Linked DNA regions of Homo sapiens: regions 1, 3 and 4 are each linked to region 2. The links are contacts of gene promoters, found by promoter capture Hi-C in blood cells and fetal thymus (Javierre and others, 2016). All regions are on one chromosome and are shown on one strand. Each heading gives the region's core, a stretch centred on a gene start or on the middle of the fragment in contact. The rest is flanking DNA. Distances are from core to core; before and after follow the strand shown.

What was found. Contacts are between HindIII fragments. The CHiCAGO score rates a contact against its expected background, and 5 or more counts as called.
Region 1: a contact is called between a fragment that was not itself captured here and the fragment with the promoter of SLC18A1 in region 2, in 1 of 17 cell types (neutrophils). The highest score is 6.2, in neutrophils.
Region 3: a contact is called between a fragment that was not itself captured here and the fragment with the promoter of SLC18A1 in region 2, in 2 of 17 cell types (monocytes and neutrophils). The highest score is 6.7, in monocytes.
Region 4: a fragment that was not itself captured here is called in contact with the fragment with the promoter of SLC18A1 in region 2 in 1 of 17 cell types (neutrophils); the score reaches 5.2 in neutrophils.

What each region holds. Positions count from the first base shown.
Region 1 is chr8:19,799,372-19,802,614 of GRCh38, reverse strand. No RefSeq gene overlaps it. Among named protein-coding and RNA genes, the nearest start is that of INTS10, 16 kb to the left of the region's middle. The HindIII fragment of the contact is 275 bases long and covers 1,659-1,933 here.
Region 2 is chr8:20,181,478-20,184,527 of GRCh38, reverse strand. SLC18A1 (solute carrier family 18 member A1) reads left to right here and starts at 1,392. Exons shown (of 16, transcript NM_003053.4): 1 at 1,392-1,465. The HindIII fragment of the contact is 10,670 bases long and covers 1-3,050 here.
Region 3 is chr8:19,819,798-19,823,015 of GRCh38, reverse strand. INTS10 (integrator complex subunit 10) reads right to left here. Exons shown (of 17, transcript NM_018142.4): 4 at 2,498-2,637; 5 at 496-577. Among named protein-coding and RNA genes, the nearest start is that of INTS10, 4.0 kb to the right of the region's middle. The HindIII fragment of the contact is 3,239 bases long and covers 1-3,026 here.
Region 4 is chr8:19,771,547-19,774,932 of GRCh38, reverse strand. The region is part of intron 2 of LOC107986920 (a long non-coding RNA gene); the gene reads left to right. Among named protein-coding and RNA genes, the nearest start is that of CSGALNACT1, 16 kb to the right of the region's middle. The HindIII fragment of the contact is 1,142 bases long and covers 747-1,888 here.

The sequences.
Region 1 (3,243 bases), core at 547-3,046, 380 kb after region 2:
CAGGCCTGCAGCAGCATCCAGATGGGGGTGCCTGTGACCCCAAAACCCCAGAGGGTATGTTACAGTGCTCTCTTAGCTTCACCATCTGAGGACAGCAGAGTGCTATCAGCTCAGTGGTCCCTTTGCCTCATTGCATGGGGTGGCGGCCCTCCACCAGTGAGAGCAAAGGGCTAGTGTGAGCCTTTTTGGGTACTGCACTTGGTGGGTCCCGAACTCTTGTCCAGTACCCAAGAAAAGTGAGGTCACGTGGACAACTGAAGGCTGGTGAATGCGAAGATTTTTACTGAGCAATGAAAGTGGCTCTCAGTAGAGAAGGGAGCTGGAAAGCAGATGGGAAGGGCAGGTCACTCTCCCCTGAAGTCAAGTTGACTTTCTACTTCTCTCCTCAGAAGTCAAGTTGACTCTTCGATGTCCAGCTGCTTCTCTGAAGTCAAGTCACCTCTCCCTGACATCCAGCCATTTTTTCTCCTTACTGACTGAATCTGGGGTCTTTATAGCCACAGGATGGGGGGCAGGGTGGGCCATATGTAGTTCTGTAAAAGGCAACATTCAGTTGGTAAAAAGACACTATTTAGAAAGAACGAATCAGGAGAGAGCAGGCAAATGGGTACAGAAGTTCTCACTTTGCGCCACAGGTTTCAGGCTTTTCGTCTTGAAGGTGGAGTTTCACTGGGGACCTGCCCTTGTTTTCCTAGAGTTTCTCTGCTTTCTGCCTCTATCAAAGTAACCAGTATGCTTTTTTGTTCGTTTGTTTGTTTTTTGTTTTTGTTTTTGTTTGAGACAGAGTCTCACCCTGTCACCCAGGCTATAGTGCAGTGGTGTGGTTTTGGTTTACTGCAACCTCCACGTCCTGGGTTCAAGTGATTCTTGTGCCTTAGCCTCCCAAGTAACTAGGATGACAGGTGTGTGCATTTTTGTATTTTTAGTAGAGATGGGGTTACGCTACATTGGTCAGGCTGGTCTCAAACTCCTGGCCTCAAATGGTCCACCTGTGTCGGACTCCCAGAGTGCTGGGAGGACAGGCATGAGTCACCATGCCTGGCCCAGTCTGCTTGTTATTCCTTGTTTTTGCTTTCAGCCCTTTTCTCCTTATAAAGCCAAGTCTCTCTGCTCAGCTCACCAGAGCATTTATTCTATTTTGTAGAATGAAATGCTTCCTGATTCTAGAGTCACAAGTATAAGCCAATTGGATCTTTAACTCTGTAGTTTTTGTCTTTTAACATCTCTTTAAATCCGCTGGTAGCCACTTTGGCTGGAGTGGTATTAAACAATGGCAGTGGGAGTTGCAACAGTGGCTGCCTGCCTCTGTGTCTGCTTCTCTGTAACCAGAAGCACCAGTCATGATTACAACACAGATCCCCAACATTTGGAGAACAAAGTCCTTATTGCCCACTCCATATCCTAAAAGCCACTCTAGGTACCCTAACACAGCTGCCTGCCACAGAGCTGGGGGTGGGACGATGCATAGTTGCTGCTGCACTAGGCTGAAATTGATCAAAATTAACCACACCTTCCCCTGGAAACTGCAAGCCTTTGAGTGGAGTATAGAATTCCCAAATAGTTTTATCAGACAGATTCTGCCAGTACAATCACTGTCTCTCTCAAGAGACAGATCCCTGGTGCTTCCTGCTCTGCCACCTCCCCTGACATTCCAAGCTTATTTAAACTTACATTCTTGTACAGTTCCTTTTAAATTATGTGTTGAAATTCTAATTTAACATTTATGAAAACTGACTCTAAGTTGCTGTGTGGAATTTAGAAGTGTTGAAAGTCATAGTTGGAAATTAATTTTTAATAACATTTTAAGGCCTTCTTCAAGTGATATTCCAGGTTAGGCAAGGACAAAAGAAGGCATGTTTCTGTGTATAAATAAGACATACATATACCATAAAATCTAGTAGAGAAAGGATTGGGATCCTGGGGAACTAAAGCTTTTGAGACTATTGTAAAACCATCAACTTGCCATTATCTTAAAAATAAGAAGATAATTTAAAAATTTAAGTTTTAATTTAATTTAGATTAAATTTAAGTTTAAATTTAATTTAAATTTAATTTAGATTAAAAATCTTAATTGTTGTAGAGTAGCATCTCTTGTGACAGAGTGATCAAGCAGAGTCCCAATAATGAAGAAAAATTACTTTCTGAAAGTTTAATGTTCCTCTTGTATTAGGCCTTATTTTATGGCTTCATCTTACTTTTAAATATGTTTTCTTTGACTCCCTGCATTATTTATACACTATCATATTTTTGTTATTTCCATTAGCTTGATTTATTTCTCCTATTAGATGGCATTTCTTTGAGAGCAATCATTGTTTTAATTTTTTATGCTATACACTATTGGGTACAGCTATTTGATTAATGTTTGATAATTACTTATTTTGGATACAGGAAATCTAACACCTTGAAACTTGTGATTTATCAGAACAAATACTTTTATTTAAGAAGCTGCTACATTAGTATGAGTTCTGATGAGAGTGAAGGAAGACATTCTTGATATAGAGAATGAGTTCCTAATTATGGCTCAAAGTTCTCTCTTTTGTTTCTTCTTGATCCTATTGGACATGTAAATAATTCACTGACATGTATATAAGTCAATAATTTGGTATTTTAAGTTTGGTACTAAGGCATTAAACAAAATAAATTAAACCATTGAAAATTGGAAAAGGACACTATTATTAAATTTTAGCTGTGGAACACCTTGTAATAGTTTGAGAATCACCACCGTAAATCATCCAAATACAGATTGAGCATCCCTAATCAAAAAATCTGAAATCCAAAATGTTCCAAAATGCAAAACTTCTTTGAGCACCAACATGACACCAGAGTGGAAAATTCTACACCTGACCTCATGTGATGGGTCACAGGCAAAACCTTGTTTAATGCACAAAATTATTCAAAATAGTATGTAAGATTACCTTTAGGCTATGTGTATAAGGTGTATATGAAACATAAGTGAATTTTGTGTTTACACTTGGGTCCTATTCCTGAGATCTCTCAGTATGTATATGCAAATATCCCAAAATAAAAAAAATCTTAAATTTGAAACAATTCTGATCCCAAGCATTTCAGATAAATGATACTCTACCTATATACCATACATTTAACAAGTCAGTATTCAAACTTATTTCCTGGACAGTGTCTTTTGCTAAAACCAATTGTTTTTATTCATTATAATTGTGTAACACTTAAACTTTCTGAAAATAATACATAATCATTATAGGAAATTAGAAAAGTACAGAAAAG
Region 2 (3,050 bases), core at 143-2,642:
TAGCTTTGAGGGTAAAAGTGGCTAGGAGCCAAGAAATGCAGGAGATCTCTGGAAGCTGGAAAAGGCAAGGAAACAACCATCCCCCAGAATCTCCAGAAGGAATGCAGCCCTGCCGACACATTCATTTTAACCCGGTGTGATGTATTTTGGACTTCTGACCTCCAGAACTGCAAGATACTAAATACGTGTTGTTTTAAGCCACCAGATTGTAGTAATTTGTTACAGCAGCAAACTATAGCGATGAATACATTCTGCTGATGTCTTTGTTTCCTATCCCTATTTCTCGCTCTAGGTTTACATTTTAAAACTGTTTCCATCTAGGCCGCGCGCTGTGGCTCGCGTCTGTAATTCCAGCACTTTGAGAGGCCAAGGCAGGAGGATCACTTGAGGTCAGGACTTCGAGACCAGCCTGGCCAACATGGTGAAACCCTGTCTCTACTGAAAATACAAAAATTAGCTGAGCATGGTGGCATGCACCTGTAATCCCAGCTACTCAGGAGGTTGAGATTAGAGGATTGCTTGAACCCAGGTGGTGGAGGTTGCAGTGAGCCAAGATCATGCCACTGCACTCTAGCCTGGGTGACATAGCGAGACTCTGTCTCAAAAATAAAAAAAATAAAATTAAAAAACTATTTTCTTTTTTTTTAGCGTTAAATCGAAAGTTCCCTAGTTAATTCCCACAATTAGGAGGGGCCCACCAGTTCCACAAATAGGAAATCTCTGCACTGCTCTTGCTCGTAAAGTGTATTTGCTTTTTCATAAATTGCTTATGTTCTTTGAGCCACCAATGGTTTAATGTCAGAATAATATAGATCATTAGAGCCTCTCAAGATCCCACAAGGAACTGCACTTTCTCCTGTAGTTAACCATCCAGTCATCCATGCAAGAAATATTTATTGGATGCTACCATGTATCAGGCACTGAGCCAGTATTGAGATGTGAAGACACAGTGCATAATCTAAGCCTTTACAGAGGCCACAGATGTTGGGTTTTTATGGCTTGAGAACAACATACATTGTTTCTTTCCAGGAAGCTAATTGGGGTACATGGAGCCACTTTGACTAAGTAGCAAGGAACAGGAACTGCACACTGGTTCCATCTTGGCTTCCAATTTGTATTCAGACCCAGGCAAGAGTTAAAGAGTTCGATGATAGATAAGCACAGATGCAAAACAGTACAGTCCAGTGCCTCTTTGCTTAGGCTAATATCTGCCCTCTCTTTATCCTCTCCAGCCCTGCCTTCCTGCCTTTGACGCAGGGAGCTAAGGGTCTGAATGAACCCTGTTGGAGGTTGCAATTAAATCTTTGTGGACAAAGGCACACACACACACACATACACAGAATCCTCAGATAACAGGAGGCAATAAATCCAACAGCACATCCACGTTCAGAGAACAGTGTCCCTGCTGTCTTGCTAACAGCTGCCAATACCTCACTGAGTGCCTCACACCAACATGGGCTCCAAGGTAAGATTTTTCTCTCTCCGGACAAATTTAATCTTTCCTTGTGATTTGTGTCTCTGTCAGAGGATTTTGACTGTTAAGTAAAGTTTACTATTGATTTGTTGGCAAATTCCTGGTTTTGTTTGTTTTTGTTTTGGGATTTGGGTGTGTGTGTTTCTCTCTCTTTGTAGTACTTACTTCACTCACTATGTTTTTTAATTTTCCATGGCTTGTCTTTTATTCTTATCCATACATATCCTAAGTCAATTTGTATTCAGAAATACCTCCTTTATATAGAGAAATGAAGGATCTTAAGTAATTGCATGCATTTACTGGTTAAAACTTAACTGAGAATTTGGTTCACTTAGGACCTTGGTCACGTTAATATGTAGTAGTGAGAGGGTTCTTCCAGCCCTGGGCTTAGAACAGAGTACCTCAGTGTTTGGGGTACTCCCAACACCTGAGGCTGACTATTGAATTTCAGTGATAATCATTTAAAATTATTTACTTCTTTAATTACAAAAGTAGCTCATTATTGAATATTTAGAAATACACAGAAGATAACTGAAGTCATTGATTATAAATAACTGGCATTTGAGTATCTCTCTACTCTCTCAAAAATGTGCCCATATATTTATATTTAGACAATTGAGATAAAGTTGAAAACACAGTTTAATTTCCCTTTTTTACTTAACGTTATAGTAATAGTATTTTCTGTATCATTAAAATTATTTGAAAATATAATTTTTAAGAGCCGCTTAATAATCCACCATTAACATGTTTGACTTTTTTCACTAAGAAAAATAATTCTGCAATTGATCATTTTGAGTATAAGTCTTTGGCTGCATCTCTGACCTTTTTTCTTTTGTAGGATGGGTTCCTTGTAGTAGAGTTACTAAGTCAAAGAGTATACAATTTTTAGGGCCTGATAGATTTCATGATGGTAATCTATTTTAAAATTTAAATGAGTGATATTGTTGATACCACAACAGAAGCCACGTCAAAGAAAATGAAATTCTCCCCAGAAACTCTTATTACTTGAAGTTTGACAAGGTACTGTGACTTAATGCTGACTAATGATATGAAATCCTGAATAGAGAACTAATCATGAAAGTCAATATTTTATTTTCACAGATGAAGGCATCTTTCTGATCAGGGGTTTGTAGCTCAAACAAAAGAATGAGCGTGCTTCTAGAACCACAGAGCAAGGGAACATGGTAGAGGATAAGCTGGCAAGTTGAAAAGCGTGGGATTTCATCCCAGTTTGACACTAACTGTGCAACCCCAAACAAATCTCCTAACCTTCAGAGGCTCGGATTTCTTGTCTATGAGATGAAGGTTGGTCTACATCAGTGTTTCTCAGTGGGCAGCCCAAGTGACACTGTGCCACATGAAATATTTTGGGGTAGCACCTAGAACAAAGGTCATACTTTTTTTGCATGCCACATAAAATAACTTTTTGAAACATGATATCAATATCTATGTTGGTTTTAAAAATTTTTTGAGAGTTAGGGGTCTTGCTATGTAGTCCAGGCTGGACTCAAACTCCTGGGCTCAAGATATCCTCCCACCTCAGCCTCCCAAGTAACTGAGACTCCAGGCACATCCC
Region 3 (3,218 bases), core at 158-2,657, 360 kb after region 2:
CTTTCAGAGGTATCAAATCTTACATAACAAAAGTTTAGAAGTTGTTTAAAATGCTTTTTTTTTTTTTGAGACAGAGTCTCACTCAGTCACCAGGTTGGAGTACAGTGGCGCGATCTCGGCTTACTGCAACCTCCGCCTCCCAGTTTCAAGCGACTCTCCTGCCTCAACCTCCGTAGTAGCTGGGACTACAGGCGTGCGCCACCATGCCCAGCTAATTTTTGTATTTTTAGTAGAGACAGGTTTTCACCATGTTGGCCAGGATGGTCTCGATCTCTTGACCTCGTGATCCACCCACCTTGGCCTCCTTAAGTGCTAGGATTACAGGCGTGAGCCACCGCACCCAGCTAAAATGCTTCTAAATTAAAAAAAAAAGAACTTAAATGCCATAACACATAAAGCTCCTTTGCCTTTCATATATGAGCTTATCCCTGAACCAACACTTACCCCAGCATATTAATTTACCATAGAAGTAATAGAGAATACAATTTTCCTTACCAAATAATTTTCTAAAGCAGTTCACTGGAGATTCTTGTTCTTCAATAGTTTCAGCCTCTAATAGTGCCTCCCCAAGGCCAACCTATTTCAAAACAAAATTACTCATTTAAATGTGTTACAGCATAAGTTGTCAGAACTATATGAAGTAATGGGGTATTTTTTTTACTTATCACAGTTTGCATAATCAAACTTATCTGAGAAACAAATAATCACATTTTAAAGACTGGAAAATAAAAGAATGCACCAGCCACACACCCTAGAAGGCCAAATTCACCTGAACATCTGACCACTCTGTCTTGGTTATTCTCTTCATAATTAGCAAATTCTAATTAACGATGAACAAGAATTAACAAAATGTCTATAGAAATGTAAAGGAAGCAATGGAACTGGAGTTCAAATGATAATACAGAGGTAGAGAGATTTTCTAAGAAATAAAGAAACTAAGGTTATTCTCTACATGAAGATGTATCAATATAGACAAAACGTATCACGTTCAAGATAAGTTCTGAGGTGTAGCCAGTCATACAGTCTGGTGTAGAATGGACAGAAAAGTCAGAGTTTTAAGGCTACCTTTCCATTACCAATGCCTTAGCATAGTAGACGGTCCCTTACTCAAATCCACCAAGACACTGGTATCAACTTCCTTGTGACCACACAGGGATGCACCACAGGAGTGGAAAAGTGCGAAAGATTACATCACACAGAAGGTGAAAGGTCAGAGTTATGACCAGAAAGTGTGCTGGGCTGAACAGTGCCCCCCCAAATTCATATCCCCGCAGAACCTCAGAATGTGACCTCATAGACATCTTACCTTTTTTTTTAAAAAAAGTATCTTTGTAGATATAATTAATTAAGATGAGGTCATGGTGGATTAGAAAGGCCCTCAATCCAATGACTAGTGTCCTTATAACATGGCCATGTACACACACCTGTAATCCCAGCTACTCAGGAGGCTGTGGCATGAGAATTGGTAGAACCCAGGAGGCAGAGGATGCAGTGAGCCAAGATCATGCCACTGCACTGCTGCCTGGGCAACGGAGCAAGACTCTGCCTCAAAAAACAACGACAAAAAAGGCCATGTAAAGACAAAGGCACAAAAGAAAGAAGATCATGTGGTGATGGAGCAGAAATTGGAGGAGTGATGAAGCTGCCTGCCAGGGAATGCCAAAGATTGCTGACAACCATCAGAAGCCAGGGAGAGGTAAAGAAAGATTCTTCCCCAGAACCTTCAGAGGGAAAGTGCCTCTGCCAACACCTGACTTTTAGACTTCTAGCTTCCAGAATTGTGGGAGTCCTTCTGTTGTTTTAAGCTACCCAGTTTGTAGTACTTTGTTATGGCAACCCTAGGAGACTAACACAAGCAGGTATGGAAATGATTAACCCGGGCCAGACGCCAGAAAATGGCATGGGAAATAAGCCGCAGAGTATGAACGAATGGAGTGAATGGTTTGAAACCTGACACCTCACTGGCTATGGGAAGTTACTAAAACACAAAATGCTCAGTTTCGTCATCTGTAAAGTGGGATACTATTTACTTCAGGGGATTTAGGAAGATAGGAGATACCTAGCACTTTCCCATGCCTGCCAATAGCACTCGATAATTATTACAGATGAAGGAAAGGGGCAGGAATAGAATGAAAATAGTCTCCATAGGGCAGAAGCACAGGAAAAACGCATCTGTTAAGACTATAAACTCTACGCTAAATTCAAAAGCACATTGTAGAATACAACGGAAAAAGATTACTTTTTACCATATGGATTGCAATAAACAGTACTGTCAGAGCTTGGTGATTTTCCTGATAAAACAGCTTCTCCTGGAAACTTACAAAATATGGTGAAAAGAATGTCCTTTTAGCTTTACTAACAAAGAACCTTCTATTTCAGTTCAATCTTAACCAGTACTCTTCAGAAACTTCTGCTTTGTAGCTCCTCACCATACCGATGAATCTGTTGATGACCCATTGTATTTTATATTAAAAGAAGGGGAAGAATCAAATCTCACCCCATGCTGCACCACCGTTTCAGGGAAGCGCCTCAAAAGTAGAAGCAACATTTCTGATCGTTCTAACGTGTTGAAGCATTGTTCCGTGACCTTTAGTAACATTTCACACTGGACCCGACCAGGAAGAGTTTCAAATAAACCTGTACGAAACATATTTCACTTTTAAAAGTTTCTTGCGGACAGAAAAGACTGCAGCAACAGTGCTGAGTAAGGCATTTTCATGTACAGAACAGTAAACACTACATGTGAAATCAATGCAGTTAAGTTTCACCTACAACCTGGCAGCCTTTTGGAGCCAATAGTATCTGGCACAGGATGTTTGCTGAATAATGGTAAAATATTTGCAAGACTGATCAAATTCAAAAAACAATGATGTATGTGAATGGTCACAAGAATGCCTGTTGCAGGTTGAGATAGAGAGCATGTGCTTGTTGAAGTTCAAATGACCTATGCATCTACTTGCTATTTTATCTAGAGTTTGAAATCTTTGATTGACTACAGCAACATACAGAAGTTTAAAGAGAAAGCTTCTAAATTACTAAAAGCTTCTCTCCTGTTTTGTGGAGAGCTGGTTAATCTATAGCTGCTATCTGGTTATTGTAAAACCTGTTAAAAATATATACAATTAATTCCTCGTCTCACTGATAAATCCATATCCTTTAAAGAAGCTTAAAGGGTTCTAAGCAAGTCAAGGAACCGAGTGACATTATTATAGACTTTG
Region 4 (3,386 bases), core at 68-2,567, 410 kb after region 2:
ACCTCAAGTGATCCACCAGCTCAGCCCCCAAAGTGCTGGAATTACAGGCATGAGCCACTCTGCCCGGCTTTACTGGGTGCTTTAATAGGATGACCTGGTATGTGAGTTTGCCTACGACAGCTGTTTTAAGTCTGTTTTCTTAGAACATCTATTAAGAATGCCCTCATTGACTCCAAAAAAAGTTCTAGTTTGGAGAATAAATAATATGGTTACCTCAGCATTTAAGATCTTTTTTTATCTTTCCTGTTCAGTTTCACTGAACTGTATCTGGAGTTAGGTTTATTTTAATTCATGACCCTTGATACATGGCATATTCTTTATTTCCCTTTTTTTCCTTGCAGCAACAACTTCTACTCTATCCTCATATGTGCTAATTCTCTCTTTAGCTATATCTAAATTGGCATTTTGCCCATCCATTGAGCCTTTAAAGCCAATTGATTATATTTTCAAAATCAATTCATTTAAAATAAATTATTGGCTCATTTATGATATGTTTTATTGCTTGTGCAATGCTCAGTTTTGTCTGTCTTTTATACAATCTTTTTTCTTCTTCATACAGATTTATTTTGTATTCTATATCTGATAATTCCAATATTAAATTCAGTTCTTTGGGTTATAAGTTATTTTTTCCTGGACTTTTTTTCATGCTGGCCTATTTCCTCATATGTTTGATGACTTTGCACCATGAACTTATATTTGATTGACTTTAATCAGTTGGAATCCTGAGGTCCTAAATCATGGAAGCTTTCCTCAGAAAGAATTTGTTTTACTTTCTGATGTGTGCCAGTGGGAGCTGCTAGTCTGGAACCACTTTAGACTGCTTCAAAAGACCCAGCTTAATGTGAGAGTCTCGGGTTTAGCTCCCAGACTTTGTGTTGAGCTCTAGGAATGTGGATTTTTCTGTTTTACCTTTCAGTTGTATTAGTTTCTGCTTCATGTACTTTGAAGTTCTGTTGTTTGATGCATGCACGTTTAGGATTGTTACGTCTTCTTGGCAAATTGATCCTTTAGCATTACGTAATACCCCTCTGAATCCCTGGTAATATTCCTTGTTCTGAAGCCTACTTCGTCTGCTGTTAGTATGGCCACTCTCACTTTTTTTTAGTTTGAGTTTGCATCTTATATCTTTTTCTACCCTTGTATTTTTAACCAATGTCTTTAAAGTTAGTTTCCTGTAGACAGCATAAAATTGGTTCTTGCTTTTTAAAAATTGTTCTAACAATCTGTCATGTAATTGAAGCTGATAGAGTTAATTTTTTCTATGGAATTTATATAGGAGAGGACTAAAATTTTTTGGTAGTATTGAAATAGTCACTTATTAATAATGAGATACATAAAAATTACTAAATTAGTCCACAGTATCAAAGTTCTAAATGTTGTCTAGCACATGATAGGTACTCAAAAAGCATGTATCACATGAAATGCTGAAAATGTTTAGGGTTACCTAGATTCAGCCAAATACATTTATTGAGCGCTTACTGTTTCCTAAACTGTATCAGGCGCCAGCCTAGTTGAAATAAAGAAAATATAGTACTGTGTTGACTTGCATTATTTCACCTTTCTTCCCGTTTCATTCTGAAATGATAGGTAGAAATGGGAGTGATAGAAGCAGTTTCTCAACAGCCCAGAATCTTAGAGGATAATTTGTGGCTGGCTTTTTTTTTTTGAGATGGAGTCTTGCTCTGTCGCCCAGGCTGGAGTGCAGTGGCGTGATCTTGGCTCACTGCAAGCTCCGCCTCCCGGGTTCATGCCATTCTTCTGCCCCAGCCTCCCGAGTAGCTGCAGTGACTGGTGTTTTAATTGCCCACAGCAATGTTTGCCCCTGGTTTTGATTGTAATTAGAAGCAGAATGTACTTTAAATAAATATTGATGCTTGATACGGAAGCTTTGCCTCAAATTTCCCCATTTCCACCCTCTTTCTCATCTCCCTGCTCCCATTTGACACTGCACTGGGACAGCAGCACCCTCATGTTGCTTGGTGTAACCGAAATGGCGGTGGGATTTGGAACTCAGAAGGTAGTTGTTAGAATCCTGGCTCAGCCATTAATTTGTTCTGGGAATTTCAGAACAAGTAGATTCAGATTGCTCAGCAACAAACACATAGAAGGCGCTAAGTCCTGACCCCTGTCCGATTAAAAAAATTATAAATCCAAGGATGATGTGAAACATACTTTTAAAGATAAAAAGAATCTGGATTATTTATTAGTGACTTCTTAGGAAATTGTTATTATGGAGAAATTTTAAACATCAAAAGTAAAGGGAATGGTATAATAGAACCCATGTTCTCATTATCAAAACATTTCGCCAATCTTTTTGCTTATCTCTAGCCCACCTTTTTTTTCCTTTTGTTTCCCAAAGCATTCTAAGGAAATAGATACCAAATAACAGGTACCAGGTCATTACACCTATAAATACTTCAGTATATAAGTAAATCTTTTAAAATTACATCTACTAAACTTTTCTTGGGTCCTACTCCCTCCTTATTAGATTAGGAAACTAAGAAGTTAGTGACTTGCCCAAGGCCATATAATTAAGTGGAAGAACTGGAGCGAGAACGTTAGTGTTCCTAATGCTTAATCCTGTATTCTTTCCCCATAACATGTTGGCTCTGAAGAACACCTATGTACTAACTGTCTTAGACTGTTCAGGCTGCTATAAGAATGTGGCTTACAAATAACACAAACTTATTTCTCACAACTCTGGCCGCTGAGAACTACAAGACGCAAGTGTCAGCAGATTTGGTGTCTGGTGAGGGCCTGCTTTTTGGTTCATAGATGGTACCTTCTAGAGGTGTCCTCGCATGGGGAAAGGGGTAAACAAGCTCCCTTGACCTCTTTTGTAAAGGCACTAATTTTATTCATCCATGAGGGCCCTGCCCTCGTGACCTAATCACCCTCCCTTTGGGTGCCACATCTCTTAATGCCATCACACTTGGGATCATGTTTCAATACAGGATTTTTGGGGAAATACAAATGTTCAGATCATAACACTAGCTAAAAAGAAAATTGCAATTAGATTCTCCACCAGTATCGTGTATCAGAATCATCTTAGACAATATTAGAAATGCAGGTTCCTGAGCCCCATCCCCAAAGGACCTCATTTCTTAGGGCTGAGCTGAAGCCAGCAGTGTGTTAGAGCCAACTTATTTCAGTTCCTGAGAGCCAACTATTAAATTTCAAGAATTTTATGAGCTCATTACTAAAAATCATTACAAATTAAATTGTAGAAGCTCACAGTTACATAAATTATGTTAAAAACAAGCATAATAAGTATACAAAACTCATCACTTCCTATTGACTTTACTACACGTTGCTATTATCTGTGCTTTTGAGGTTATGTCTATTACTTCTGTGTGGTGGAGATACTGATACTGGTGTGCTACTGT